4 separate regions of the Homo sapiens genome follow, and regions 2, 3 and 4 are each linked to region 1. The links are contacts of gene promoters, found by promoter capture Hi-C in blood cells and fetal thymus (Javierre and others, 2016). All regions are on one chromosome and are shown on one strand. The core of a region is centred on a gene start or on the middle of the fragment in contact, and the rest is flanking DNA. Distances in the headings are between cores, read along the strand shown. Region 1 holds the start of SFTPA2 (surfactant protein A2). Region 2 has its middle 53 kb from the start of SFTPD. Region 3 has its middle 27 kb from the start of SFTPD. Region 4 has its middle 4.7 kb from the start of SFTPD.

Region 1 (7,099 bases), core at 2,203-4,702:
GCCAAGGCTAGGAGTGGCTGCCTGGGGTGCAGTGCTGGGATGGTTTGCAAGGGGAGTGTCAAGGCTGGTCAGTGATTATGGGGAAGAGTCAGGGCCCATCAGGGGAATGAAGTGGCTAAGGGTGCCTCCAGCTCTAATAGCCACAAGTGAATTCTGTTGAAAGGGAGTTCTAGCATCTCACAGACCAAGTGGATCCTGGGGATGGAAACTGAAGGCCAGACAGGATCCTCCCTGTCCCATGGCCTAAATGCCTCTCAGAACTCACAGATGGTCAGTCGGGAGTACAGGCAGTTCCTGTCATTCCACTGCCCATCTGTGTACATCTCCACACACTGCTCTTTTCCCCGACCTGCAGGCTCCCCTCGGTACCAGTTGGTGTAGTTTACAGGGGTCCCATCTGAGTAGCGGAAGTCTCCAGGGCTGGGACCCTCAGTCAGGCCTACATAGGCATATGTGTTGTACTTCTTCACGAAGCTTGCAATGGCCTCATTTTCCTCTGGATTCCTTGGGACAGCAATGCGGCCGCCTGCTCTGGCACATGCCTCCTGAATGGCATCAAAAGTGATGGACTGCCCATTGCTGGAGAAGACCTTCTCTCCTACTGTCATTATGGAGCCCTGCAGACTGAGGGCTGAGAGCAGAGGAGTCCAGGTCAGGCCACTGACCACTTTGTCTCTAAGCCACCTCCCTCACCTAGGGTCTCTGCTACCAGATTCTCCCCAGTCTCTCCATCTCTGCCTCTCTCTGTGTCTTCTCTTCCTCTTCCAATTGCAGTTTTCTAAATTCACTTTTAGACTCTCCTCCATTTATTCATTCATCTAAGTAACAATTACTTATTGCCAGAAATGGTGCAATTTCCTAGGATTCAGTGGAAAGCAAGACAGGCAGAGAACTTGCTTTCTTATGAAATGGGGAGTGAATTGTGTCTGCTTGTCTCCTCTTGGCCATTCAAAGACATCAGAAAAGCAAGCATCATTCCTTTCCCCAACACCTGCATGTGCACGCTTGTTTGTCATCTCTATTCTAGAAGGTGGTGCTGAGAATGAGGGGAATTTGTGGGAAACTCCTACCCCGTGAGGCCCAGGGGGTCCCCTTACCTCCCCTTGTCTGCAGGATTTGATGTCTGAAGTCGTGGAGTGTGGCTTGGAGCTCCTCATCTAGATGAGCTGGAAGCCCTGTGGAGAGTGCCCCACACAGAAGGAGGGGCAGGCCAGTGAAGACTCCCACTTGCTGCCACGCAGGCGTTTTGCCATCTGCAATCCTGGAACTCTGCCCTTTCATTGCTGTTAGGCACCACCCAGACCCTAGGCTCAGAGGGTCCACGAGATTCCAGTGTGTCTCCACACCCCGTGGTCCCCTATTCTTTAGTGAAGCCTTGCCCCTGCTGAGACCCCCACCCCTTGTCCTCTTTCCTGCTCTGTCCCTCGAGGGGTTCTGTCTGCCCGCCTCTGTGGGGCAAGTCCCTCTCCCGCACCCTCCACCAAGGGCAAGCATGATGCTCTCTGCACTGCCCTGATGGACTTGCTTACCGCTCTGAGCTTCAAAGTTCCCCTCTGTCTGTGGGGCTCCTGATCACACCATCTGCCTGGATGCCTCGTCCGCATTCACCCTTCAGACTGCCCCCAGGGCCTCCATCCCAGGACATGCCTCCCCTGCCTCCCAGTGCTGTCCCTCGTCCCACACCTGACTCAGTGTGTCCCCATCAGCGGTCATGAGGCACGGAGGACTTCCCACACCTGCCCTTCTCTGAATTGTGACCACACTCCCCAGACACCTCGGCTTTCTCCCTCAAATTCATATTCTCTTACTTAGGTTGAGCCAAATGCCCTTGGGGAACCTGCAGGGTTTGTCTGACCCCCATCACCCCTGTGTAACTGACTTCAGGTCGCTGTGCCCATGTTTCCACTGCCCACCTGCCCCGCCCTGCTCACCTGGAGGGCCTCTCTCGCCAGCCTCCCCCTTCTCTCCACGCTCTCCAGGGACACCAGGGGCTCCAGGCAGCCCATTATTCCCAGGAGGACATGGTGTTTCTCCAGGCGGACCCATGGGGCCTGCAGAGAAAAGAGACATGGATGTGTAGGATCTGTCACCCACAACTGGTTGGAGCTAGTGAGACTCGATGCCCATTATCACCGGGGCTGGCTCAGCTATCACTCCGTGGGCACTATGAGGACAGACTCTCCAGGATGCGCCATCATAAGGGCCCCAGGAACCCACCACCCCTGCAGACTGAAGTCCCACCCAGCTTACTATAGCCCCCAGCTCACTATGGCCCACAGCCTAGGGGCCTGGACAGATGGGCCTCCTGAAAAGGGGTCTGTGTCCCTCAGCTGAGGGTGGGGTCTGCAGCACAGTACCTGGAGGGCCAGGGTCTCCTTTGACACCATCTCTCCCGTCCCTGCCTGGCAGGCCGTGGGATCCAGGAGTGCCGGGGATACCAGGGCTTCCAACACAAACGTCCTTCACTTCGCACGCAGCACCAGAGGCTGCCATCAAGATGAGGGTGAGGGCCAGAGGGCACAGCCACATGGCTCTGGGTCCAGTCGCTGCTCCTGCCGGAGGGATGGCCGTGAGCCCATCTGCCACCTCTGCCAACATCTCCCCCACTGTGCTCTGTCAGGACTCAGGAAGCTGGGCAGAGCCCGAGAGGCAGGGCGGGCGAGACCAGAGTGCTGGGAAGACCCGAAGCACCCGGGAAAATTCCAAGCATCACCTGGCACCTGGCATGGCCTCATGCTTCAGGCCTCCGGCTGGAGGTTGTGGGGTCTCAAGACTGCTGAGGAGGAGGAAGAGTAAGGAGCTCTGGGGAGCCCAGGGACCTGGGCTCCAGTGCAGTCTCCTTTCTTTCAGTGCCTCACTATGTTACCCTGGGAAACTGGCTTCACCTCTCTGATTTCAGCTGAATCTTCCATGCTCTGCAGAAAACCTGCCCTGTCCCTCCCAGGCTGTTAGAAGGAAGGATGAGGTCACTCACTCACTGACTCACTCCATCTGTCCCTCATATGCCCAGTTACCTTCTTTTCAGGCTCCAAGAAATCAGCGACCTGAGAATGAAAAGAGATGAATAGGGCCCACAGCCTGGACCCTTCAAGGTGATCATCGGGGGGTGATGACCCTCTCACAGTCAGTGATGAGGTCTTCCTTCCTCTTGGGGTCTGTTCTCCCACTCCCCCTGCTTAGGCCCTGCTGAGTCCCTGGTAGGGATGGATCTGGCCAAGGAAGATATCAAAGCATGAGGGTCTTTGTAGGTCATCCATGTTGACCATGCTGTGAAACACCTCCCAGTGGAAAATGGGGAGTTGCCCTCCTTCCCAACCTGGGCCTTGGTCAGGCCTGTGGCTGCTGGGCTGGTCCTCTCTGCCTGCGATCCTCAAGCTGGAGAACACCTAGGGGATGTGGCTAAACTCACCCACACACAGAGCCTCCAGCTGCTTGGGTCTCTGCCTCCAAGTTAGAGCATAAAGGTGGACAACAGAATTTATAGCATGTGGGCTGCCAGGCTTCTTCCCCACCCCTGAGAGCTCTACCACAAAACCTGTTCTCCAAGCAGGAAATAGGCATAGTGTTTACACAGCACATTTCCCTGCAGAACACTCAGGCTGCAGGAATACTTAGGACCCTTGAGGGGAGCACAGAACCTGGTAAAGAAAAATACCAGGTCTGTAAGAAGAGAAATGCCTCACTGGCTAAGGTCACCCACTCTGCACTCAGGGAGCTCCACTGGGTTCCTGGTTTAGTTTCAGACAATGAAGAAGTCACTGCTTCAGCTGAGGTTGGTCAGGTTGATCCAGGCCAACCTGTCTGCCCTGTAACCTTGCTCAGCTCTGAGCCCCAGGACCCCCAGCCAGTGTCTCTGGAGCCTGCAGCCGAGTTGGTGGGCACATGGACAGAGTGGCAGGCAAATATGCTGCACGTTCCACTTCCCTCTGCCCTAGCAGGTTCAGCTGGAGGAGTCAGGGCAGCACCTGGAAGGTCATGGGAGAGCTGCAGTTTCTGTCTTTGGTAGAACATCACTTTGGGTGATGTCTGGCAACCTGCAATGGTGATTATGCTAAGTGTCCCAGTGATATATGAAGCCCTAGTTGTTAGGGTCCTGGTTTGAGCATCTGGATTAGGAGGGAATCTCCAACTGTGGAGGTGGTAATGATGGGAACCCAGACAGGAAAATCTCCCCTGGCTTATTTGGAATTGGTTTGAAAAATCCCAAACCATTGAGGAGTTTGGAGCTCTTCCAGGGAGCGGAAGCTCAGACAACGGACCCCACTCCCAGGAGCAGGAAGCTGGGCAGTGCCAATTTGTAGCATGGAGTCTTTCAGCTGCCCCAGTGCTGTCTGCCACACCATGTGGTGGGTGCTGGGCCAGGTGTGGAATGGGGGAGTCAGGCCAGTGCAGGTTGGGGGCAGGTGGGGCGAAGCTCCAGCAACTTGGCTGTGGGGAGGCAGGGCTGTTTTGCAGGTGATGAGCAGGAACAGAGGCCAACTTGGATGTGCAGGGCCTTGTGGTTGGCAGGGCAGGGCATGGCTTTAGGGGAAAGGCACACCTGAGTTTTGACCCAGAGCTGTCACTTATTAACCAGGTGGCCTTGGTCAGTTTCATTTTTCATTTTATTATTCTGAAACAACATCAAAATTACAGAAAAATTGCCAGTATCGTACGACTTTTTTTTCCCCTGAACCTATGAGAGTAGGTTGTCAACATGAAACCCCAACACCCCAATACTTTAATGTGTTTTTCACGCAAAGGCATTTTTGCATTATAACCGTAATCAAGAAATAAACACGGATACAATAACTCCAAATAGCCTTCAGGCCCTATGCAAAATGTACACAATGCCCCAATAGTGTCCTTTATAGCAAAGGATCCGTTTCTGAGCCATGTGCCTTATTCGGTTGTCACGCTTCTCCAGGGTCCTGAAACCCACAAAGTCCCTCTGTCTTCCCTTCACCTTCATGACCTGAACACAGTGTGAAGATCACAGGGGAGTTACTGTGTAAAATACCCCTCACTTTGTTTGTTTGTTTGTTTGTATTGCCTTACAGTTAGATTCAGGTTCTGTAACTTCGGCAGAAATACCATCGACACCCGGCTGCGCTCTTCTCCCATTCTACCCGGCAGCATGTGACTTTAGTTTGCCCCAAGACTGATGATGTTCGTGTTGATCATTTAATTAAGGTGGTGGGTGTCACAATTTGCCACTGCAAATTTATTCTTTTTCTGATTTTAATCAGTGACTATGTTGTGGGGACGCACTTTGGGACTATTGTAAAGATCCCATCCCTCATCACGCTCTTTGTTGCCCTTTGATTGATTTGTAGCAATGTGGACTCGTGAGTGAGGCTTGCCACCGACCGCCAGGGGGAACCATGCACTCGCCTGCGTGCTGCAAGGGACACTATCCGAGTTTGATGTTGAGACAGGTACAGTTTACCAGCACATGGCACCAGCAAATCTAAAGAATGTAGTTAAGAAACACAAGCTTGTCATTCTTAGCACTAAGAATTGCTGCAGTCCCTGCTGAGTTCCGAGTGTCCAAGCCAGGCCACTCTGCCGCGTCCACAGCCTCCTCCCCCTGCTCAGGCCCCATTGCCCTGGCCGGTCCGCTCTCCTTCAGTGCCCTTCTCACTCTCCTAGGGGCTTCAACCCCCATGCTGGGCCACCTCCCTCTGCGGGGACATCCTCTTCACACTGCCAGGCCCTGGGTGCCCACGCGAAGCCACCTCAGAGTCCACAGTCTCACTGCACTCCGAGTCCCACTCCCTGTGGCAGGACCCCCTCCTCACCCAGTGTGACTGAAACCAGGAAGACGACGCTTTTTAAGACTGAAGGGGCACAGAGTGGGAGCCATGCACCGCCCTAAGAACAGCCCACGGGGGTCTCTGCAGATTCGAGACCTCTCTCTCAGTGCTCAAGGGACTCTTTCCTTCCCCTTTCTCCAGCTGCACTGGGTGCTAGCAGTGGGAAGAGGCTGTCTGTGGCTGCTAGAGCTTTCCCGTCGTTTTGGATCATTGCAGCACTCTATGAGGCGTACAGAGAGTAAGTAAATCCCCATTCCATACTTCAGTCAACTGAGGCTGACAGGGGTTACATGGATTGCCAAAATTACCCAGAAATCCTCTTTCCAGCTCAGTCCTCTGCTAGAACCTTCCCAGAGTCAGAGGGATGTGCTTAATCTACCTGTACCTGGAGACAAAGAGATGCATAAATAGATTTACTAATTATGGATATATTTCAAGATCACTTCTACTGTCAGAATCTAAGGGGCAGCTCAGCCACATTAAGGGAATGGAAGTTGACGCTTCTTTTCCTTGATGCAGCCAGCATACTAAGCAATTATGTGTGTATGTATTATAAATATATGTACACACATATATTGTGTGCTGTATATTTACACACATATCTATATTACATTGGCACATCTAATAAATGTCACTGCATTCTTAAAAAGCATAACACAATAAATCTTTCTATGACCTAGAAATGACAAATTTTAATTTTCATCAACACAGCCCTCTCACCTCACTACCCTGAGCATTTTGAGTCTTCCAAACCCCAGAGAAACACGTCATGTTTTATTAAGGCTTTGAGGTGAGGGAGACAGTTTTTCCCATTCTGCGCCTTGGAGGAATTGAAACTGGCAGATGGCAGCAACTATCTCCAATGAAATAGGCTCAGGAAAACACACGTGCACATACACACACACACACACACACGCACACACACACACTGACTTTGCATCAATAAGACCATACTGCAGATACTCTTCTACAATAAGTGTTTTCTCTTACATACCCCAGCCATATTTTCAGATTGACACACAGGGATATAATTGTTAACTATAGTCTTTTCTTGGGGTTTGCTTGTTTTTAATTTGGGTGACTTATTCTTTACTCTTTTTAATTTTAAAAAATTTCTTATTTTTAATGGACACATAATTTTATATATACATGGGATATAGTGAGCTATTTTGATACATGTATGCAATAATCAATGATCAAATCAGGGTAAGTTGTATACCCATCACCCCAAAAGTGTATCAATATTTAGTGATAAGAACATTCACAGTCTTCTCTTTTACCTCTTTGAATGTATATAATGAGTT
Region 2 (7,099 bases), core at 1,641-4,140, 440 kb after region 1:
AATGGAACCTAATAGAAAGATGGAGATAGATAAGCATTGAAGACTGTGGCTCACACTTGTAATCCTAGTACCTGTAATCCCAGCTGAGGCAGGAAAGTCACCTGAGGCCAGGATTTCGAGACCAGTCTGGGCAATATAGTGAGACTCCATTTCTATTTAAAAAAAAGAAAAGAAAAAAAGAGTACTGGTAGTATTCAGAGAGAAAATGATTAATCACAACAATGTTGGTACAACTGACTACCTGTTTATAGTGTAGAATTAGGGCCTCACAGCCATTCACAATAATAATATTACAAATGGAAGCAGGGGTTGGCAAACTATTACAAATGGGCCCTATCCAGCCAGTTTCAGTTTTTATAAATAATTTTCTTGGGACACTAGCCACACCCATTTATTTACCTATTGTCTATGGCTGCTTTTAAGCCGAAATGACAGAGCTGAGTACTTGAAACTCCACTTTGCCCAATGCCCAAAATGTTTACTTTTTGTTGTTTGTAGGGAAAGTTTGCCAAGCCCTGGATTACAGAATTTATCTTTAAAATTAGGAGTAAATAAATGAGAATACTGTATAATTCCATTAATATTTTATATAAAACAGACAAAACTAATCTTTGCTGTGGTTAATTTATTTTATTTTATTTTGAGATGGAGTCTTACTCTGTCACCCAGGCTGGAGTGCAGTGGCACAATCTCGGCTCACTGCAACCTCCGCCTCCCGAGTTTAAGCGATTCTCCTGCCTCAGCTTCCCCAGTAGCTGGGATTACAGGCATGTGCTGCCATGCACAGCTAAATTTTTTGTGTGTTTTTAGTAGAGACTGGGTTTTACCATGTTGGCCAGCCTGGTCTTGAACTCCTGACCTCAAGTGATCCACCCGCCTCGGCCTCCCAAAGTGCTGGGATTACAGGCGTGAGCCACCATGCCCAGCTATGCTGTGGTTAAAAGTAAGGATATGAGCTACTGGGGGAAGGGTATCAGTGCCTTAAAGGGAACCAAAAGTAGGCTCCTGAAGTCAGGTAATATTATCTTTCTTTATCTGAATGTTTGTTCCATGAGTTTGGTTGTTTTGTGACAATTTATTAAACTGACTATGTATGATACATGGTCTTTTGGGTATGTGCACTATATTTCAATAAAGTTTATTTTCAATAGCCTACATGTCTTATCTAACCTGTACTCCTCCTGCCTTTCCTCTCTGACATCATTTTCTACTGTCCACCCCTCCGCCTCACATAGGCACCATCTAGTGGTATTGGCCTCCTTGCTTTTTCTTAAACATCTCAGGCTCCCTCTCACCTCAAGGCATTCCAACCTCTGCCTGCAAAGCTTCCTGACCTCTCATGATCCCCATATCCCTTGAATCACTCCTTCATCCCCCTCTCAGCCTTTGCCAGGTGGCCTTTTCAGATAGGCTTACTTTCATCTACCTATTTAAAGCTGCAATTCTCCAAAAATTCCTAATCCCCCTTATTTTATTTCCTTTTTTCACAATGCTATATTTTCTCAGTAATAATTTCTATTTCACTTATGATTACTTTCTGACCCTCTCACCCCTTCCCAAACACACTAAATTGAAAGCTCCAGAGATTGTTGGATTTTGTCTATCTTGTTTACTGATATTGTCTCAGAGCCTAAAATAATGCCTTACAAAAGTAAGCACACAATGAATATTTGTTGACTGGATTAATTAGAATGAATAGGTATGGATCAGGCCCAAAGTGTCAAGCACTGACGTAAAAGCCCTGAGCAAGATAGGCATGCCCCAGAAATAGAAATAGCAAGGCAGAGACTATGAGTGGAGTAGAGCGAGTGCATGCAGGGAAGGAGGAAGCGAGGTTACAGAGTAGATGGAGGTCAAATCATGAAGGGCCATGGGGCCAAGCATGGTGGCTCATGCCTGAAATCCCAGCACCTTGGGAGGCCGAGGTGGTGGATCACCTGAGGTCGGGAGTTCAACCTCAGCCTGACTGACATGGCAAAAAGCCATCTCTACTAAAAATACAAAAATTAGCTTGGCCTACTGGCACGTGCCTGTAATCCCAGCTACTGGGGAGGCTGAGGCAGGAGAATCACTCGAACCCGGGAACAGAGTTGCAGTGAGCTGAGATAGCGTCACTGCACTCCAGCCTGGGCAACAGAGCAAGACTTCATCTCAAAAATAATAATAAAAATAAAATAAATAAATAAAAATAAAGGGCCATGAAGCCATTGTAGGGCTGACTTTTGTATGAAATGGAATCAGAGGGAAGGTCCAGAACTAGGTAAGGCAAGTGAAAACTCACCTGGAATGCAGAAAGAGACCCAGTAATGAAGATAAAAAGTATTTTAATCTAACAGTTTATAAAGAATGAAATTGACAAACTATAGCCAACACAATGGATATTTGTTGTTTATAAATAAAGTTTTATGAAAAACAGTGCCAGGATATGATTTACCAGTGAAGTGGCTTCACTTGTGCAAGTTAGAGTTAGATCCTGATATTATTTAAAACTTCGATATCTTGTTCATCGTGAATTTTTGCACAAATTTTTAGTTTTTTAAATGTTGCCATAATATATTTATTGGATTTCCAGTTTCTGATCTGGCATGTAAGATGCTTGGAGGTCATCACTCCCATCCACAAAACATAAAAAAAAAACCAGTTAAACTGAAAATCAATAACTCTTCCTAGATTTATGAGAGAAGTGAGGTCACAGGCAAACTGCTGCCCTTTAAATTGAAGACAGACAGGAAGATGCAGAGAATCAAAACAAGGAGCAGAAACTGACTAGCAGAAACCATTGGCAGAATAGGAAAAGCTGCACTGCAATCAAGAGTTGCTGGAAGCACAGTATGGCCAGGCTTGAGAGTTAAAAATGCCAGGATAGTCCAGCCTTTGTTGGCTTTAGTCCCAAGAGTCCTACCAGGTTCTCAAAGTAAAGATCAGAGAAAATTCTCCTTGTGCTTTATGTAGGATGAGAGGAAAAGTAGACATTATGAAATATGCTCAGAGCATTCTCTTCTTCTTAAGGGATGCCCTCGAAAGAACCTATTTCACCAGAGCCTTCCCAACAGGGATTTTACCAGAACCTAGCTGATGTAAGAGAAGCAAAATTGCTAACTGCAATTGGGCAAGAATATGAAAGTAAAGGTGTTATATTGGAAAGGAAAAAGTGAAAATTTTCAGATGACATGACCTCTCATAGAGAAAATCCAAAGGAATCTAAAGACTGTTATAGCAAGTAAATGAGGTTGTAGAATGCAAGATCAAAAATTTTAAAAATCAGGCCAGGTGTGGCAGCTGACTCCTGTAATCCCAGCATTTTGGGAGGCCCGGGTGGGCAGATTGCTTGAGTCCAGGAGTTTGAGACCAGCCTGGGCAACATGGTGAAACCCTGTCTCTATTTTAAAAAAAGAAATAAACAATCAGTTTTATTTCTGTATACTGGCAATGAACAATTCAAAAATGAAAATAAAATAAACCTATACACAATATCATCAAAAAGAATAAAATACTTAGAAATATATTTAACAAAAAGATTCAACATATGCACACTGAAAACTTCAAAATGTTATTAAAAGAAAATATAAAAGATCTAAATAAATGGAGAAATATCCCATGTTTATGGATTGGAAGACTTAAACTCCCAAAAAGAGATCAACTAATACTCCCAAAAGAGATCAACAGATTCAATTCACTTCCTATCAAAATTTCAACAGCCTTTTTGCAGAAATTTACAAGCTGAACCTAAGATTCATTTAGAAATGCAATGGACCCAGAATAGCCAAATTAATCTCGAAAAAGAAGTACAATATTGGAGGACTTACGCTTCCCAAATTCAAAACTTACTACAAAGATATAACAATCAAGAAAGTGTGGGCTGGGCGCATGGCTCACGCTTCTAATCCCAGCACTTTGGGAGGCCGAGGCGGGCAGATCACGAGGTCAGGAGATCGAGACCATCCTCGCTAACACAGTGAAACCCCGTCTCTACTAAAAAAAATACAAAAAATTAGCCAGGTGTGGTGGCAGGGGCCTGTAGTCCCAGGTATGCAGGAGGCTGAGGCAGGAGAATGGCTTGAACCCGGGAGGTGGAGGTTGCAGTGAGCCAAGATTGTGCCACTGCACTCCAGCTTGGGTGACACAGCGAGACTCTGTCTCAAAAAAAAAAAAAAAAAAAAAAAGAAAGAAAGAAAGAAAGTGTGGTACTGACATAAGACAAAACTTATAAATCAGCTGAATAGAATTTAGAGTCCAGAAATAAACCCATACATCTATGATCCATTGAGTTCAACACCAATGCCAAGACAAATTCAATGGGAAAAGTATAGTCTTTACAAGAAAAGGTATTAGAACAACTGGCTATCCACAAGGAAAAGAATGAAGTTGAATATCTATCTCAAGTTACATACAAAAATTAATTCAAAAGGGAAGGAAGGCCTAAGCATACAAGTCAAAACTATGAAACCATCAGAAGTAAGCTTACCTGACCTTAGATTAGGCAACAGTTTCTTAGACATGATACCTAAAGCAGAAGTAACGAAACAAAAACTAGATAAATTGGCTTCATCAGAATTAAAAACTATTGTGCATCAAAGAACACTGTCAAGAAAGTTAAAAGTCATCACATGGTACGGGAGAAAATATTGATAAATCATTTATCTGTTATGGATTTAATATGCAGAATATACAAAGAATGGTTAAAACTCAACAATGAAAACACAAACAGCGCAATTTAAAAATGGGCAAAATGACAGGCCAGACCCAGTGGCTCATGCGTGTGTAATCCCAGCATTTTGGGAGGCTGAGGTGGGTGGATCACTTGAGGTCAGGAGTTTGAGACCAGCCTGGCCAACATGGTGAAACCCTGTCTCTACTAAAAAAATACAAAAATTAGCTGGGCATGGTGGCACATGCCTGTAATCCCAGCTATTTGGGAGGCCAAGACATGAGAGTCATTTGAACCAGGAGGTGGAGGTTGCAGTGAGCCGAGTTTGTGTCACTGCACTCCAGCCTGGGCAACAGAGCGAGACTCTGTCTAAATTAATTAATTAATTAAATTAAAATGGTCAAAATGAAAATTTTTTCTGGAAATAAGAAACACAAAAGCCAATAAGCACATTAAAAGATAGTCAACATCATTAAACACTAAGAAAATGCACACCAAAACCACAAAATGAGGCCTGGCACAGTGGCTCACACTTGTATTCCTAGCCGAGGCAGGAGGATTGCTTGAGGTCAGGAGTTCAAGACTAACCTGGCTAACACAGCAAGACCCCATCTCAAAAAAAAAACAAAAAAAAAAAAACCCACAAATGACACCATGGCACCACTCACTAGAGTGACTATAAGTTTTTTTTAAAACAATGTGTTGGCAAGGATATAAAGAAACTGAAGTGCTTATACATCTCTGGTGAGAATATAGAATGGTGAAGCTGAAGGTGGAAAACAATTTTGAGTTCCTCAAAAAGGTTAAATATAAAGTTACCGTATAACCCAGCACTTCCCCTAGTAGATACATACCTAAGAAAACTAAACAAGCTGGGCATGGTGGCTCATGCCTGTAATCCCAGCACTTTGGGAGGCTGAGGCGGGCAGATCACCTGAGGTCAGGAGTTCGAGACCAGCCTGGCCAACATGGTGAAATCTCATTTCTATTAAAAATACAAAATTAGCCAGGTGTTGTGCCAGGCGCCTGTAATCCCAGCTACTCAGGAGGCTGAGGCAGGAGAATCGCTTGAACCCGGGAGGCTGAGGCTGCAATGAGCCGAGATCACATCACTGCACTCCAGCCTGGGCAAGATAGAGCAAGACTCTGTCTCAAAAAAAAAAAAAAAAAAGCAAACTGTAAACCTATGATGACACAAAAGCTTGTACACTAGTCTTCATAGTAGCATTATTCATAATAGCCAAAAGGTGAAAATAACCCAAATATTCATCAACTGAGGAATGGATGAACAAAAAGAACATTAAAAGGAATAAAGTACATTGGGGGAGGTTGACATGGGGAGGGATAGCATCAGGAGAAATACCTAATACAGATGACGGGTTGATGGGTGCAGCAAACAACCATGGCACATGTATACCTATGTAACAAACCTGCAGGTCCTGCACATGTGTCCCAGAACTTAAAGTATAATTAAAAATTTTTAAAAAGGAATAAAGTACAATACAATATGGATGACCATTGAAAATAGCAAGCTAAGTGAATGAAGCCAAAAACAAAAGGCCACATATTGTGTCATTCCATTTATATGAAATGTCCAAGGCCGGGTACAGTAGCCCATGCCTGTAATCCCCACACTTTGGGAGGTCAAGGCAGAGGGATATCTTGAGTCCAGGAGTTCGAGACCAGTCTGGGCAACATAGCAAGACCTTGTCTCTACAGAACATGAAAGAAAGCCAGGGAGGATGGCTTGAGTGCTGTTGCCAGGGAAGGAGAGGAATGTGGATGTGGAGTGGCTGCTAATAGGTACAGGATTTATTTTTGGAGTAAAGAATATGTTCTGAGTTTAGATAGTGGTAATGATTGTACAACCTTTAGAATATACTTAAAGATGTTGAATTGTATAGTAATTTAAATATATAGCATTTAAAATGGCAAATTTTATAGTATACAAATTATATCCCAATTTTTAAAAAAATGACTATGCCACTACTTACTGAATCCACAATTTCCCCTCCAGAGGCTAAAGAGTGATTTCAGTTCCAGAGGCAAAGTCCCCACATGGTCACCATGTGCTTCTTCAAAACTGACAAAAACTGGACCAGGACTGGTCTGCAAGAAGGGCAAACTTCTCCTTGACTCTTCCTTTCATGTTTCTCAGACCCGAGTTCAGAGAAAGATGGGGCAGGCTTGGGGGCCTGGGGGTCTTCCGAGAGGGTACAGAGGTCTTTCTGGAAGGGATGCAGGACGCTGGAGATCCCAAGCCTCAGAAGGAACTTTGACCTCCACCGGGTGCTCACTGTGGGACACCTTTCCGCTCCTGCTACAAAACCACTCAGTGCAGGATGAATCCTGGAGCCGCAGAATGGCTTACTGATCTGCCAGGGCCTCCCAGGAGAGTACAAATGCCTTGAACCTCCAGGTCTGGGTACGGAGCCTCTTCAAGTCTCTTCA
Region 3 (7,099 bases), core at 1,309-3,808, 410 kb after region 1:
AAAATTAGCCAGGCATGGTGGTGGGCACCTGTAATCCCAGCTACTCAGGAGGCTGAGGCAGGAGAATCACTTGAACCCAGGAGGCGGAGGTTGCAGTGAGCAGAGATCACACCACTGCACTCCAGCCTGGGCGACAGTGTGAGACTCTGTCTCAAAACACACACACAGACACACACACACACACACACACACGGAGCATTTTGACTCAGTCCTGTGGATAGCACCTAACTTCCATCCTCACTTCATGACCTAGATAATTGTTTCTAAGCTCCATATTGCCCCTAGAGAAAGCATGGGAACCAGGCTGTGAATGATTTCCCTGAATCCTGAATAACAAAAACATTTTCATGGCAAATATGATCTCCTCTCCATGACCATCACTTCCTTGGAAGTCTGTACCACGTACAAACTGGAACCAAACCAAGGTAATGAGAAAAGGTGAAAAGGGGACTTGTCCAGACTTTTCTCCCTTTTGGCAAGTTCAAAAGTCAAACCTGAAGGCGGGCAAATGGGCAGAACATGGGAGGATGCTAGATTTTCTCATCCTGTGAATTCATGACAAGGAGTTTTTATCCTAGCTCTGAGAGTTCCAAATGGGAACTGGAAGTTACTTCACTCTCCATCTCTCAAGGATTGACTCAATGAGCTTATATCCATCCATAATACTGAGCTGTTATCATGTGTGAGTTTCCCTTTAAACATTGAAACAGAAAGAAAATGACAGTAAAAGTTACAATAGCCCCTCCATGAAATCATTAAACAAAGTCTATGAACATTAATATTCCCACTTTGTTAGCATTTTTGTTAGTATTAACATGCATATCATGAAGCTTCCCTTTTTATTATAAATAAATTGTACATCAAGTTCAAGCCTCTTGGTTGTGTTTCTTCATTTGTGTTTTTTCTTTTCTATTTTTGTAACTTCCAAGGATACATCATGGATCTTCAAGCTGTAGGGGAGTTTCCACTGGTACATTAAAAATATCTTTGAAGGCCAGGCGCAGTGGCTTACATCTGTAATCCCAGCACTTTGGGAGGCCGAGGCAGGTGAATCACAATGTCAGGAGTTCAAGACCAGCCTGGCCAACATGGTGAAACCCCATCTCTACTAAAAATACAAAAATTAGCCAGGCGCAGTGATGGGTGCCTGTAATCCCAGCTACTCAGGAGGCTTAGGCAGGAGAACTGCTTGAACCTGGGAGGGAGAATTTGCAGTGAGCCGGGATCCCGCCACTGCACTCCAGCCTAGGCGACAGAGCAAGACTCTGTCTCAAAAAAAAAAAAAAAAAAAAGTCTTAGAAAACGAAATGTTAATTTCCTTGTGTTATTTTATCAATATACCCTCTGTCCCATCTTTTTTACAATTCCATTAGTCCTTTGCATTGTCTCCTTTCATATATACATGTGAGAGCAAGGACAGGGTACCCAGCTCTAGTTCATAGCTTGCATCTACAAAGGTGCCAGTCTGGAATAACACCACAGTGTCATGCAGTGAACTTCTTGGGATGACTCTGGATGCATTATGCCAAAGGGTTTCTTTGGTTTGTGTATGCAGAGCACAAGTGCCAGAAAATTCTAAACTCATTTTTTACTGGTGGATTACTCCAAGTAGAGGATACTTTTCCACATAATGCTGATTACGTTAACTGTGAAATTAGGATCTCTGTGTGTTTCACAGACAGACAGACACACACCCACACACACACAAATAGTAGCATCACAGATTCCCCTTAAATAAGCTGAAAAATTTATTTGACAGCATTAGGACTATGCCGTTAGTTGTTTTATTCTCAATTATACCCCCAGATATTTTTTATTTTTATTTATTTATTTTTTTTCTGAGACAGAGTCTTGCGCTGTTGCCCAGGCTGCAGTGCAGTGGCACGATCTCGGCTCACTGCAAGCTCTGCCTCCTGAGTTGACGCCATTCTCCTGCCTCCGCCTCCCGAGTAGCTGGGACTACAGGCACCTGCCACCACGCCCAGCTAATTTTTTTTTGTATTTTTAGTAGAGACGGGGTTTCTCGATCTCCTGACCTCATGATCTGCCCGCCTCAGCCTCCCAAAGTTTTGGGATTACAGGTGTGAGCCACCACACCCAGCCACCCCCAGATATTTTTTATATGCCATCAGAGATGAGACAGTCTAGTATTTCTAGTCATGCCTATATTTTCAAGAGTGATGTGATCATAGTTCTCTGGTTCATTAAAAAAATCTGATATTGGCCAATTTTAAGATACATACAAAATATATCTCTATGTATATATACCTCTCCATCTATCTCTAAATGCATATAAAGTGTATCTCTCTGTGTCTATATCTACTTCAACAATCCCGTCACCTCTCCTCATCACACCCTTCTATTCTTGTTTGTATATATACAGATGTGCCTACAGCTAATGTTGAAAGAGGAGGAGTCTTTTCTTTGGCAGAAATGCCGAGACCAGCTCGGTCAGGGAGACCTCTAACCCAGCAGTGCTAGAGGAATTAAACATACACACACAGAAATATAGAGGTGTAAAGTGGGAAATCAGGGGTCTCACAGCCTTCAGAGCATTAATTAGCATTGTTTCTATAGACATTCGATTAACTAAAAGTATCCCTTATGGGAAACAAAGGGATGGGCCGAAATAAAGGGGTGGATCTGGCTACTCTGAGTAATTTAAAAGGAAAGGGCTCAAATGTAGCTATAATATTTCCCTGTTGATCTGGGGGGGTGTATTCCAACAGGGAATCACCAAGCCTCTAAATCACTCTCTCATCTAGCTTGCTGAATTCCTGCCTGACTAGAACTAAGAGCAGTCGCTCTAGGTGCTGCTCGAACAGTCACTGGGGCAACTACTTTTTGCCCAGTGTCCTCCGGAAAAGAAAGATCTGGAAGGTCATTTTCTTCAAAATAATAAGGAGGGGGTGCAGAAGGGTAGGGATGAACCTCTCCCTCCTTTGCCACTTTAGCTTCAGCTGGTAAATAAAACTGCTCTGTAACCTCTTCTGTTACTTTGTTATACTCTCCTTCCTCCTCCTCATCAGTGTGAAAAAGTTCCTAGGTGGAATGAACCAGACCCCACACTTGTCCCATTGTTACCCTGATGCTTCCAAGCTCCCCTTCTTACTCACCACGGGGATTGCTTTAAGAGTACTCAGGTGTCCTCCAGCTTAGTTCCACATTCTCCAACTGTTGCTCCGGCGACCCTTCGACCTGGATTTGAGTCCCCATGATGGACACCACTTGCTGAGACCAGCTCAGTCGGGGAGACCCTAACCCAGCGGCACTAGAGGAATTAAACCCACACACACAGAAACAGAATTGTAAAGTGGGAAATCAGGGGTCTCACAGCCTTCAGAGCTGAGAGCCCTGAACAGAGATTTAACCACGTATTTATTAACAGCAAGCCAGTCATTAGCATTGTTTGTATAGATATTCGATTAACTAAAAGTATCCTTTATGGGAAAGGAAGGCATGGGCCCAAATAAAGAGGTGGGTCTGGCTAGTCATCTGCAGCAGGAACATGCCCTTAAAGCACAGATTGCTCATGCTATTGTTTGTGGCTTAAGAATGCCTTTAAGCGGTTTTCCACCCTGGGTGGGCCAGGTGTTCCTTGCCCTCATTCCAGTAAACCCACAACCTTCCAGCGTGGGTGTTATGGTTATCATGAACATGTTACAGTGCTGCAGAGATTTTGTTTATGGCCAGTTTTGGGGCCAGTTTATGGCCAGATTTTGGGGGGCCTGTTCCCAACACAGAAGTGGTGGGCTATACCTTGTGAAACAAGAGTTCTGGATACAGTGGCCTTAAGAAAAACAAGTTTCTCTTTTGGCAAAAGAATCAAAGTGATGGCCTTTGGTTCTGAAAGGAAAGAGTGACTCCAGTAGCATGAGGACTTTAAGATTTGGGGAAACTTGAATTGCCAAAGGCAATAAATGGTGCTGAAAGCTGGAGTTCAGCTGGTTTTGTGGTCCTGGTCAGCCAGCCCAAAGAAGCCTGAGATCCAGGCTTGCACAGTGGATCCTATCCCATCACCTGACAGCCTGTGCAAAAACACATCTGCATGCTCCCAGAAGTCCCTGGCTACTGAGTCAATCATATCTACTGCTCTGGGAAACCACAGAGTTTGGGAGGGTGAGTGATAAAATGGCTGTTGAAGGAAGTCTGGTGCCAGAAGAGTGATGGCACCACCACTGCCACTGCTGCCAGAGTCCAAGTCCAGGCTGGAAAAAAAGGGCTTTTCTCAGTAAAGCCATCTGCACCTAAAGGGAAAAACCCTGAGGATTCAACAAGAGCATAATGAAGCTTTCCACCTCCCCCTTCTGAGAACTGGGGACAAGAAGTCTTCAAAACCAAGTTATGGGACTAGCAGGCCACTTCTAGTTCAAGTGGCATGGGTCATTGGGTGCTGCCTGGCAACCATCCTCTCAGAGTGGGTGATATGGTTTGGCTGTGTCCCCACCCAAATCTCAAGTTGAATTGTATCTCCCAGAATTCCCACATGTTGTGGGAGGGACCCAGGAGGAGGTAATTGAATCATGAGGGCTGGTCTTTCCCATGGTTTTCTCATGATAGTGTATAAGTCTCATGAGATCTGGTGGATTTATCAAGGGTTTCTGCTTTTCCTTCTTCCTCATTTTCTCTTGATGGCAGCCATGTAAGAAGTGCCTTTCTCCTCCCACCATAATTCTGAGGCCTCCCCAGACACGTGGAACTGTAAATCCAATTAAGCCTCTTTTTCTTCCCAGTCTTGCATATGTCTTTATCAGCAGCATGAAAACAGACTAATACAGTGGGGAAGAAACTATAGGTGTGAGACGTGGCCATTTCACCTCTGGAGCCAAACTCAGCTTAGTTCCTGGCTGGGTGCCAAGGATTTATTCTTTAGCAAAAGTCTCTGCAATTAGTGACCCTCAATCAAGATCTTTTTACCCTGTGGAATCCCTCCCAACCACAGGACTCACTGTATTGGTGCTCTGCTCACAAACAAGCCCCAGCTGAAACCTGAGGCCAGAGAGCAACCTACTAGCTGTGAAGAATCCTAGAGTTCCACAGGACATTACTTCTATTAATACTCATAATGTTTCATTTAGTTCAAGCAAGCAGCTTTTCTGATACTCAATCATAAACAAACAACAACAACACACACATACACACACACAGTGCTCACACATGCACAAAGCAACATTGTAATCTATTTGATGTATCTAGTTTCACAGGTAATCAGTCTCATTTACAAATCAATCTGGCTAGTTTTTCTTGTCCTCATGGTAATATAAGGAACTTGTGTTTTTCAGGTATCTGTGGTGAAAGAGCCCTCTTGCCAGCTGGAATTATTTAAATGTAGCAATTTTCATCCAGTCATTGCTTTACAACACAGATGTGATATCCACAGCCTACTAAGGAGTTGTTACAGATTTTTTTCCATTTATACATGAAGTAGGTCTTCAGATTTACTTCTTTTTTTTCCTTTCTTTTCCACCTTTCTTTCTTCCTCTCTTTCTTTCATTATCTTCAATTTTGAGGAAAGTTTTATTTTTCAGTAAAGAGATCTTGCATGATACCTCACATCTTTCATTTAACCTGTTCTCCAGCACCACCCTTCTCCCAGCTTATTAAGCAGTGCAATCTTTGTCTGAGTTCAAGAATTTCTTGACTTACCCTGACAGTAGCACTCAAGAACAGGTGAGCCTAACCACTTGCAGTCTGTTTACCTTTTCTTTAAAGTGAAAAGGAGGATGTCCCATTTTTTGCCTTTTGGTTTTTATCAGATGATATAGCTTTGCCATAATTTGTAGTTACAGTAGATTAGTTACCATCTGTCCAAGATGCAATGCTGTTTGGTATAATCTATGGGACCTAACATAGGGGTGCAAGGATGGTTCAACACATGCAAATCAACAAATGTAATACATCACAACAATAGTGTGAAGGAAATATCCATGTGATCATCTCAATAGATGCAGAAAAAGTATTTGATAAAATTAAACATTCTTTCATCATAAGAGATATTACATTCATCACAACAAATTAGGCATATGCTGGGTGCAGTGGCTCATGCCTGTAATCCTAGCACTTTGGGAGGCCAACGTGGGTGGATCACTTGAGTTCAGGAGTTCAACACCAGCATGGGCAACATGATGAAACCCCATCTCTACAAAAATTACAAAAATTAGCCAGGTGTGGTGGCACATGCCTGTAGTCTCAGCTACTTGGGAGGCTGAGGTGGGAGGATCACTTGTGCCTGGGAGGTTGAGGCTGCAGTGAGTCAAGATTGTGCCACTGCACTCTAGCCTGGGCAGCAGAGTGACACCCTGTCTCAAAAAAAAAAAAAAAAAAAAAAAAAAGGTATAGAATGAATGTACCTCAACAAAATAAAGGCCTTATATGACAAATCTACAGGTAACATCATTCTCAATGGTGAAATTCTAAAATGTTTTCCTTGAAGATTAGAAACAAGACAAGGATGTACACTCTTGTTACTTCTATTTATCAAAATACTGGAAATCCTAGCCAGCTCAATTAGGCAATAAAAAGAAAGAAAAGGCACCCAAATGAAAGAAAGAAAGAAAGAAAGAAGTAAAATTGTCTGTCTGCAGATTACATTATCTTATATTTAAACCCTAAAGACTCCACCAAAAAACTGTTAGAATAAATAAATTCGGTAAAGTTTCAGGATACAAAACCAAAGTGCAAAAATCGGTTGCAATTTAAATACTATCAACAAACTATCAGAAACAAAAATTAAGAAAACAATCTTAAATAGCATCAAAATGTTAAACTATCTAAAAATATCATGAGAAAACATAAACCAGAAAATAAAAAATAAATAAAATATCTAGGAATAAATTTAACCAAGCAGGTGAATGATCTGTACACTGAAAAACAATAAAACATTGATAAAAAATTGAATCAGGAAGCAGAGCAAGATGGCCAGAGCCCTCCAATGATCATTCCCCATGCCCTGCAGGAACACCAACCTGGACAACTATCCGCACAAAAAAACACCTTCATAAGAACCAAAAATCAGGTGAGCAATCACAGTACATGGTTTTAACGTCATATCAAGGACAGAGGCAGTGAAGAGGGAAGGAAAGAGTCTTGAATTGCCTAC
Region 4 (7,099 bases), core at 2,108-4,607, 390 kb after region 1:
ATGTGCTTTTATGATGAGGAGTATTGTCCATTCATTTCCATGTTTAGAACTTTAAGCATTTCTTGTAGTGCTGGTCTTGTGGTGACAAATTCCCTTTGCATTTGTTGTATGGGAAAAACTTTATTTCTCCTTCATTTATGCAGCTTAGTTTAGCAGGATACAAAATTCTTGGCTGGCAGGATTTTTGTTTAAGTAGATTAAACATAAGACCCCAATCTCTTCTGGCTTGTAAGGTTTCTGCTAAGAAGTCCATTGTTAGTCTGTTGGGTTTTCCTGTATAGATTAGACATTTCTCTCTTGCTGCTTTTAGGATGTTTTCCTTCACATTGACTTTGGATAGTCTGATGACGATATGCCTTTATGAGGTTTCTCTTGTAAAGCATCTTCCAGGTGTTCTCTGAGCATCTCCTATCTGGATGTCTAATTCTCTAGCAAGACCAGGGAAGTTTTCCTGAATTATTCCCTCAAATAGGTTTTCCAAGCTTTTAATTTTTTTTCTTCTCCCTCAGGAATGTCTATATATTGTATATTTGGTAACTTTATGTAATTCTATATTTTTCAAAGTCTTTGTTCATTTTTAAAAATTTATTTTTTCTGTATTTCTGTCTGACTAGGTTAATTCAAATGACTGGCCTTCAGGCTCTGAAATTATTTCTTCTGCTTGGTCTAGTCTTTTGCTAAAAGTTTCAACTATATTTTATAGTTCCTTCAATAAATTTTTATTTCTAGAAGTTCTATTTGGTTTTTGTTTTTTAATCTCTATCTCTTTTGTAAATTTTTCATTAATATCCTGAATTATTTTTCTGATTTCCTTATGTTAGTTTTCAACTTTCTCTTGTATCTCATTGAGCTTCCTTACAACTCATATCTTAAATTCTTTATTTGTTATTTCAAAATTTTTATATTGGTTAGGATCCATTGCTAGGGAGCTGGTGTGATCCTTTGGGCATGTCAAAATACTGGTTTTTCGTACTTCCAGAGTGCTTATGCTGATTTCTTCTCATCTAGAGAACCCGTTACTTCTTACTTTTGAACTTACTCTCATTTGAATGGGATTTTTTCCCCCTTTGAAGGTGTGACTGTATGTTGTGTGTGATCATTTGGCTTCAATTTTGGGTGCCTTCCGTGGGTCACAGCTCTGTATGAGTTCCTTGGTCATAGATAGCTTTTGTGTGGTGGCTTTATTATGCTGTATAGATAGCTTTTGTGTGGTGGCTTTATTATGCTGATTGTAGTAGCAATGTATTGGGCATATGAGCAGGAATACTACCTTCTGAGGGGCTGGGAATGTGGAAGTCTCTGAAAGTTTATCTCATTCCCCAGCACTATACCCTCTGTCAGCCTGTTTTTTATTTGGTTGTGCAATTCAATCTGCATCCCAATAAAAGCTGGCTGTGGCATAAGCTGATGGGTACTTGGTCTTTGTTTTCTGGGAGGGGATCTCTGTTGTCACAGGCAGTTGGCTGGTCTGTGGATGGCCTGATTCCCTGAAGGGAACACAAAGCTTTGGAGGGGGACACAAAACTGAGGGGCACTAAACGACCAAGCTCACCCTGGGAAACCCCAATTATGAGCAGAAGCAACTGCCTTGATGGGAGTGGAAATGGGAGCTCATGGTGAAAGGCACTGATGTCTCCACCAGAGTGGGAAGGAGTATACCAGCTCCACATCCTGGGAAGGCAGGAAGGCAATCCACTTTCCTAAAACACCCTTGTCCCGGAGCTTGTGACCTTCAGTTCAGATAGACATTGTCCTTCATCTCCAGGCTGCAGTGTGATGGAGGTCTGCAGAAAACACCCGTCCTGTGGCTACCACCAAAATGGCCTTGGGATAGAACCTCTTCCCTCAGCAGCTCTGATATTCATCTGCATTCTGCTATGGGAATGCTGCTGCTCCATATGGGGAGGAGGATAAACTCTGCCCTTCGTGCAAGGCTTGGCCAGCAGGCACCCCATCAATGGGAGTGCAGCTGCCCCCAGGAGCCCTCAAAAGCCATCCCCAGGTGCACTTGTGCCAGCTCCCAGTAGGGACAGCCAACGGTCTATCTGGAGCATTGAGTGAGGGGGTAGGAGAAGACTCCCTTTCCATGTTTATTCCCAGGCACCAGTGTCACCTGCCTACTGGTGCAGAACCACACTCCTCCCCTTCAGACCCCAGAACCATGCCTGTGTCTCTGCTGGGAGGGGCACAGCCAGCCTCTTCTCACACGTGGGGAGCTCTTAGGCAGAGGAGAGCAAATGAACTGGTTTCTTTTATCCAAAGGAGTACGTTGGCACAGACACTCTCCCTTCTCCTAAGAGCTAGACTTCTAGGAATTCCATAGCTCCCCAGGGTCCCACCCGTCCCCTGTGGTTGCTGCAGTCTAAGTGGGTTCTGGGGAATGTTCATGGAGGATCTAGTGATGCAGAAACACAAGGGCTGGGATTCCTTGGGAAGAACAGACCCACAATGGGTGCATAACCAGTATGACACCTGCCACTTCAACTCAGGTTTTGGGGGAGAGCGAGTGTGCCTGCATGAGCTGGCCACCCAATGCTCTGCCCTAAAGAAGTTCCCAAATTGCCACTGACAGCAATGCCTGGGCTCACAGGTGCAGAGGGTTTCTCCAACAAGTTCAGCAGTCCATAGTCTGCCACAGGAGTGAGGGGAGCAACTTCCCCTCCTACCCTCTCCATGGGACTCTATGTTCCTTGGAAGTCAATCTCTGCAAAACTCTTGCTGTCTTCTTTTTCAGCACCACAGCTTTTTCCTGTGGGTTCCCCAATAGGTCATGTCACTCATTCCTCAGTATTCCACTCAGACCATGATTATTCAACTGCAATTTTGGTTCTTTGTTCTGAGGAGAACTGGTGTCCAATGTCTCTAGACAGCCATCTTGGGGAAAGGAAAACTCTACTTGTCTTTATAATTACTTTTACCAGTGAAACTTATACTTTTGTGTGCATTTGTGTTTCTGTTTAACCTCTTTTTATTTCAACCTCGAGAACTTCCTTTAGCACTTCTTGCAAGGTGGACCTAGTGGTGACAAACTCCCTCAGTATATGTTTGTCTGGGATAGTTTTTATCTCTCCTTCACTAATAAAAGACACATTGCTGGGTACAGAATTCCTGATTGACAGGTGGGTTTTTTTTTTTTTTCTTTCAGTACTTTGAATATATCATTTCATTCTCTCCTGGTCTGCAGGGTTTCCACTGAGAAATCTCGTGATAGTCTTTTGGAGGTTCTCTTTTATGTGACAAGTCAGTTTTCTCCTGCTGCTTTCAATTTTTTTTCTTTGTATTTGACTTTGGACAAACTAATTATAATGTGTTCAGTATAGACCTCTTTGGGTTTGTCCTATTTGGGAAATTTTGGGCTTCATGAATCTAGATATCTGTTTCCTTCCCTAAATTTGGGAAGTTTAAAGTTACTATTTCTTTAAATTTTTTAAATTACTTTAAATTCTACCCCCTTTTCTCTCTCTTCTACTTCTGGGACACCCATAATACACAGAAAGGTTTGCTTCATCGTGTCCCATAAGTCCCATAGGCTTTCTTTACTCTTTTTTATTCTTTTTTTCTTTTTGTTCCTCTGATTGGATAATTTCAAATGACCTGTCTATGAATTTGCTAATTCTTTCTTCCACTTGATTGAATCTCCTGTTGAAGTGCTCTATTCAGTTTTCAATTCAGTCCTTGAGGTCTTCAGTTCCAGGATTTTTGTGGGTTTTTTTTTTTATATAGTTTTTATTTCTTTGTTATACTTCTAATTTTGTTTATGTATTGTTTTCCTGATATTTTTTCATTGCCTTTCTGTGTTCTCCTGTATCTTGTTGAGCTTCTTTAAGATGATTATCTGAAATTATCTGTTGAGCAGATTGTGGTTTGGTTTGGTTCATTTCTTTTGGTTTGGTTACTGGAGCTTTATTAGATTTATTTCATGGTGTCATGTTTGCCTGATTCTTTATGATCCTTGTATGCTTGCATTGGTGAGTCTGCATTTGTACAAGCAGCCAGATCAGAGATTCTGGGTAGGTTGGCTGATAGGGTCAGCAGACAACCCGCTGTTGGTGACCACAGGTGGGCCTATTGCTGAAATCTGTGGGTAGGTTTGCTGCATGTGTGTGCTTGCTGCAGGTGTCCGCACATGGAGGACCTGCTGCTGGGGTACACATTTGAGCAGGCCTATTGCCATTGTCTGCAGGTGGGGTCTGCCTGCTGTCAGTATCTGCAGGTATATTTGGCTAATTGTTGTAGTGGTGGGTGGGTGGTGGGTGCTGCAGTAGGGGTCTGCAGGTGGGCAGGTTGCCTTGGAGTTTGTGGATGGAGAGGATCACCAACAGGTCTGCTAGTGTGCATGGTCACTGCTAGTTTGCAGGAGGTGGAGCTGTTTGAGTTCTGTTGACTAGCCTTCTATTGGGGCCCTGGATGGACAAGTCTGTTAATAAGGGAATAGGATTTCCTTCTCAATGAGGCTTTTTGCAGTCTTAAGTCCCCCAAGTGTTAGGAGAAAAGCTGAGTGTTGGGAGAGAAGCCAAGGCAGGGCTTGGAACAAGTCCACAGTGCAGAGTCTAAAACCCCTGGTGGCCTTGGGAATGTATCTAGACTTGCTGGCTCCTTGCTTCTAGCACTCCCATTATCTCAAGTAGCCATATGCTTCAAAGAAAATGCTAAACCATCACAGCTATAGCTCATTCACTTGATACACCACTTCCTTTCAACCCCCACATCCTCACCACCTGTTTCTTTGTTTGATCACCAATAAATAGCTTGGGCCTCCAGAGCTTGGGGCCTTCGCAGCCTCCATACTAGCAGTGGTCCCCTGGTGCCAATTTCTCAACTTGTCTTTTCTCATTCCTTTGACTCCACCAGACTTCGTAGCCCCCACAGCCTGGTGTTGGGTCTGATCACCCCAACACCAAGGAGCTGGAACCTTTTACTTGGATCCCAAATGTTTTATAAAGGCATTTTGTCCATGAATAGTTGTTAAATTGGTATTTCTGAGCAGGAAGGAAGGCTGGGGATCTTCTGTGCTGCTATCTTCTTGGTGTCATGAGACTATAATTATAATGTTTTGAAGAGTAAGGTTTTATCTTAAAATATTTACCACCTTGCTTTGCAACTAAGTTGCAAAGAAAGACAAATATAGGGATCCTGAAGTAAAACAAAACAAAACAAACAAACAAACAAACAAAGAAAACCCTGCCATACCTTATGTTCTGCAAAATCTTGAAGCTTGATAGTCTAAACCTGTAATCCTCCACCCCCTCTCTCCACCACAACCTCACAGAAAAGGTAGGATTGCTTATGCTCAGGTGCTATCTGTTGTTGCAATCTAATCTGTTCACTAGATTCTGCAACAATTGTCAATGGGCTGAATCCAATTCACATGCATATGCAGGTTCTATGAATGTCTAACCTAATAAAAATGACAAAGTGAGAGTGCTTGAAACTACCTTTTTGGATGAGAATTCTAGGCACTTTACTCTTTGTTTCTTTAAATATTAACACAATAAAGGAAAAACACTTCACTGTGTAGCTCTATTATTCACTAGAGAAAGGAGTGGTTAAAGAGAAACATCTCTACTGCATCCTGACTGGTATTACTTCTGTCTCCTGCATCATTTGAAACTACTGAGAAAGAGCATGTCTTTTAATCTTACTATTGATAACTGAGTCAAAGACAAAGAGGCAGAAAAAAATATGAAGCAAATGTTGGCGGGAAGTAAAGAGATACAACCATACTAATTTCAAAAAAACAGAATTTTCATCTAAAAGCATGACTTAAAAAATCGTTATAGAATCCATCTGATTTTATATGAAAATGATTTATATATTTATTGTGAAAATGTTAACATTGTGAGAAAAAAGTTTAAAATCACCAAAATGGGGATGGAGCCAAGATGGCCGAATAGGAACAGCTCCAGTCTACAGCTCCCAGTGTGAGCGACACAGAAGACGGGTGATTTCTGCATTTCCATCTGAGGTACCGGGTTCATCTCACTAGGGAGTGCCAGAGAGTGGTTGCAGGACAGTGGGTGCAGCGCACCATGCACGAGCCAAAGCAGGGCGAGGCATTCCCTCACTCAAGAGCACAAGGGGTCAGGGAGTTCCCTTTCCTAGTCAAAGAAAGGGGTGACAGATGGCACCTGGAAAATCGGGTCACTCCCACCCTAATACTGTGCTTTTCCAACAGGCTTAAAAAATGGCACACCAGGAGATTATATCCCGCACCTGGCTTGGAGGGGCCTACGCCCACGGAGTCTCGCTGATTGCTAGCACAGCAGTCTGAGATCAAATTGCAAGGTGGCAGTGAGGCTGGGGGAGGGGCATCTGCCATTGCCCAGGCTTGATTAGGTAAACAAAGCAGCCGGGAAGCTCGAACTGGGTGGAGCCCACCACAGCTCAAGGAGGCCTGCCTGCCTCTGTAGGCTCCACCTCTGGGGGCAGGGCACAGACAAACAAAAAGATAGCAGTAACCTCTGCAGACTTAAATGTCCCTGTCTGACAGCTTTGAAGAGAGTAGTGGTTCTCCCAGCACGCAGCTGGAGATCTGAGAACGGGCAGACTGCCTCCTCAAGTGGGTCCTTGACCCCAGAGCAGCCTAACTGGGAGGCACCCCCCAGTAGGGACAGACTGACACCTCACACGGCCGGGTACTCCTCTGAGACAAAACTTCCAGATGAACGATCACGCAGCAGCATTTGCGGTTCACCAAGATCCGCTGTTCTACAGCCACCGCTGCTGATACCCAGGCAAACAGGGTCTGGAGTGGACCTCTAGCAAACTCCAACAGACCTGCAGCTGAGGGTCCTATCTGTTAGAAGGAAAACTAACAAACAGAAAGGACATCCACACCAAAAACCCTTCTGTATGTCACCATCGTCAAAGACCAAAAGTAGATAAAACCACAAAGATGGGGAAAAAACAGAGCAGAAAAACTGGAAACTCTAAAAAGCAGAGTGCCTCTCCTCCTCCAAAGGAATGCAGCTCCTCACCAACAACGGAACAAAGCTGGACGGAGAATGACTTTGATGAGCTGAGATAAGAAGGCTTCAGAAGATCAAACTATTCGGAGCTACAGGAGGAAATTCAAACCAATGGCAAAGAAGTTTAAAAC

The links. The method cuts DNA at HindIII sites, captures the fragments that hold promoters and counts their contacts. A CHiCAGO score of 5 or more calls a contact.
Region 2: a fragment that was not itself captured here is called in contact with the fragment with the promoter of SFTPA2 in region 1 in 5 of 17 cell types (M1 macrophages, erythroblasts, M0 macrophages and 2 more); the score reaches 9.6 in M1 macrophages.
Region 3: a fragment that was not itself captured here is called in contact with the fragment with the promoter of SFTPA2 in region 1 in 4 of 17 cell types (M2 macrophages, erythroblasts, M1 macrophages and 1 more); the score reaches 8.2 in M2 macrophages.
Region 4: a fragment that was not itself captured here is called in contact with the fragment with the promoter of SFTPA2 in region 1 in 4 of 17 cell types (M2 macrophages, megakaryocytes, endothelial precursors and 1 more); the score reaches 5.7 in M2 macrophages.

The regions. Positions count from the first base shown.
Region 1 is chr10:79,556,955-79,564,053 of GRCh38, forward strand. It overlaps SFTPA2 (surfactant protein A2), which reads right to left and starts at 3,453. Exons shown (of 6, transcript NM_001098668.4): 1 at 3,410-3,453; 2 at 3,015-3,044; 3 at 2,358-2,552; 4 at 1,932-2,051; 5 at 1,098-1,175; 6 at 1-631. The coding sequence starts at 2,529. The coding sequence ends at 255. RefSeq lists enhancers at 1-335, 5,134-5,647. The HindIII fragment of the contact is 5,002 bases long and covers 473-5,474 here.
Region 2 is chr10:79,998,950-80,006,048 of GRCh38, forward strand. No RefSeq gene overlaps it. Among named protein-coding and RNA genes, the nearest start is that of SFTPD, 53 kb to the left of the region's middle. The HindIII fragment of the contact is 3,135 bases long and covers 1,324-4,458 here.
Region 3 is chr10:79,972,346-79,979,444 of GRCh38, forward strand. It overlaps a transcript of SFTPD not described here. Among named protein-coding and RNA genes, the nearest start is that of SFTPD, 27 kb to the left of the region's middle. The HindIII fragment of the contact is 3,460 bases long and covers 829-4,288 here.
Region 4 is chr10:79,950,299-79,957,397 of GRCh38, forward strand. It overlaps a transcript of SFTPD not described here. Among named protein-coding and RNA genes, the nearest start is that of SFTPD, 4.7 kb to the left of the region's middle. The HindIII fragment of the contact is 3,710 bases long and covers 1,503-5,212 here.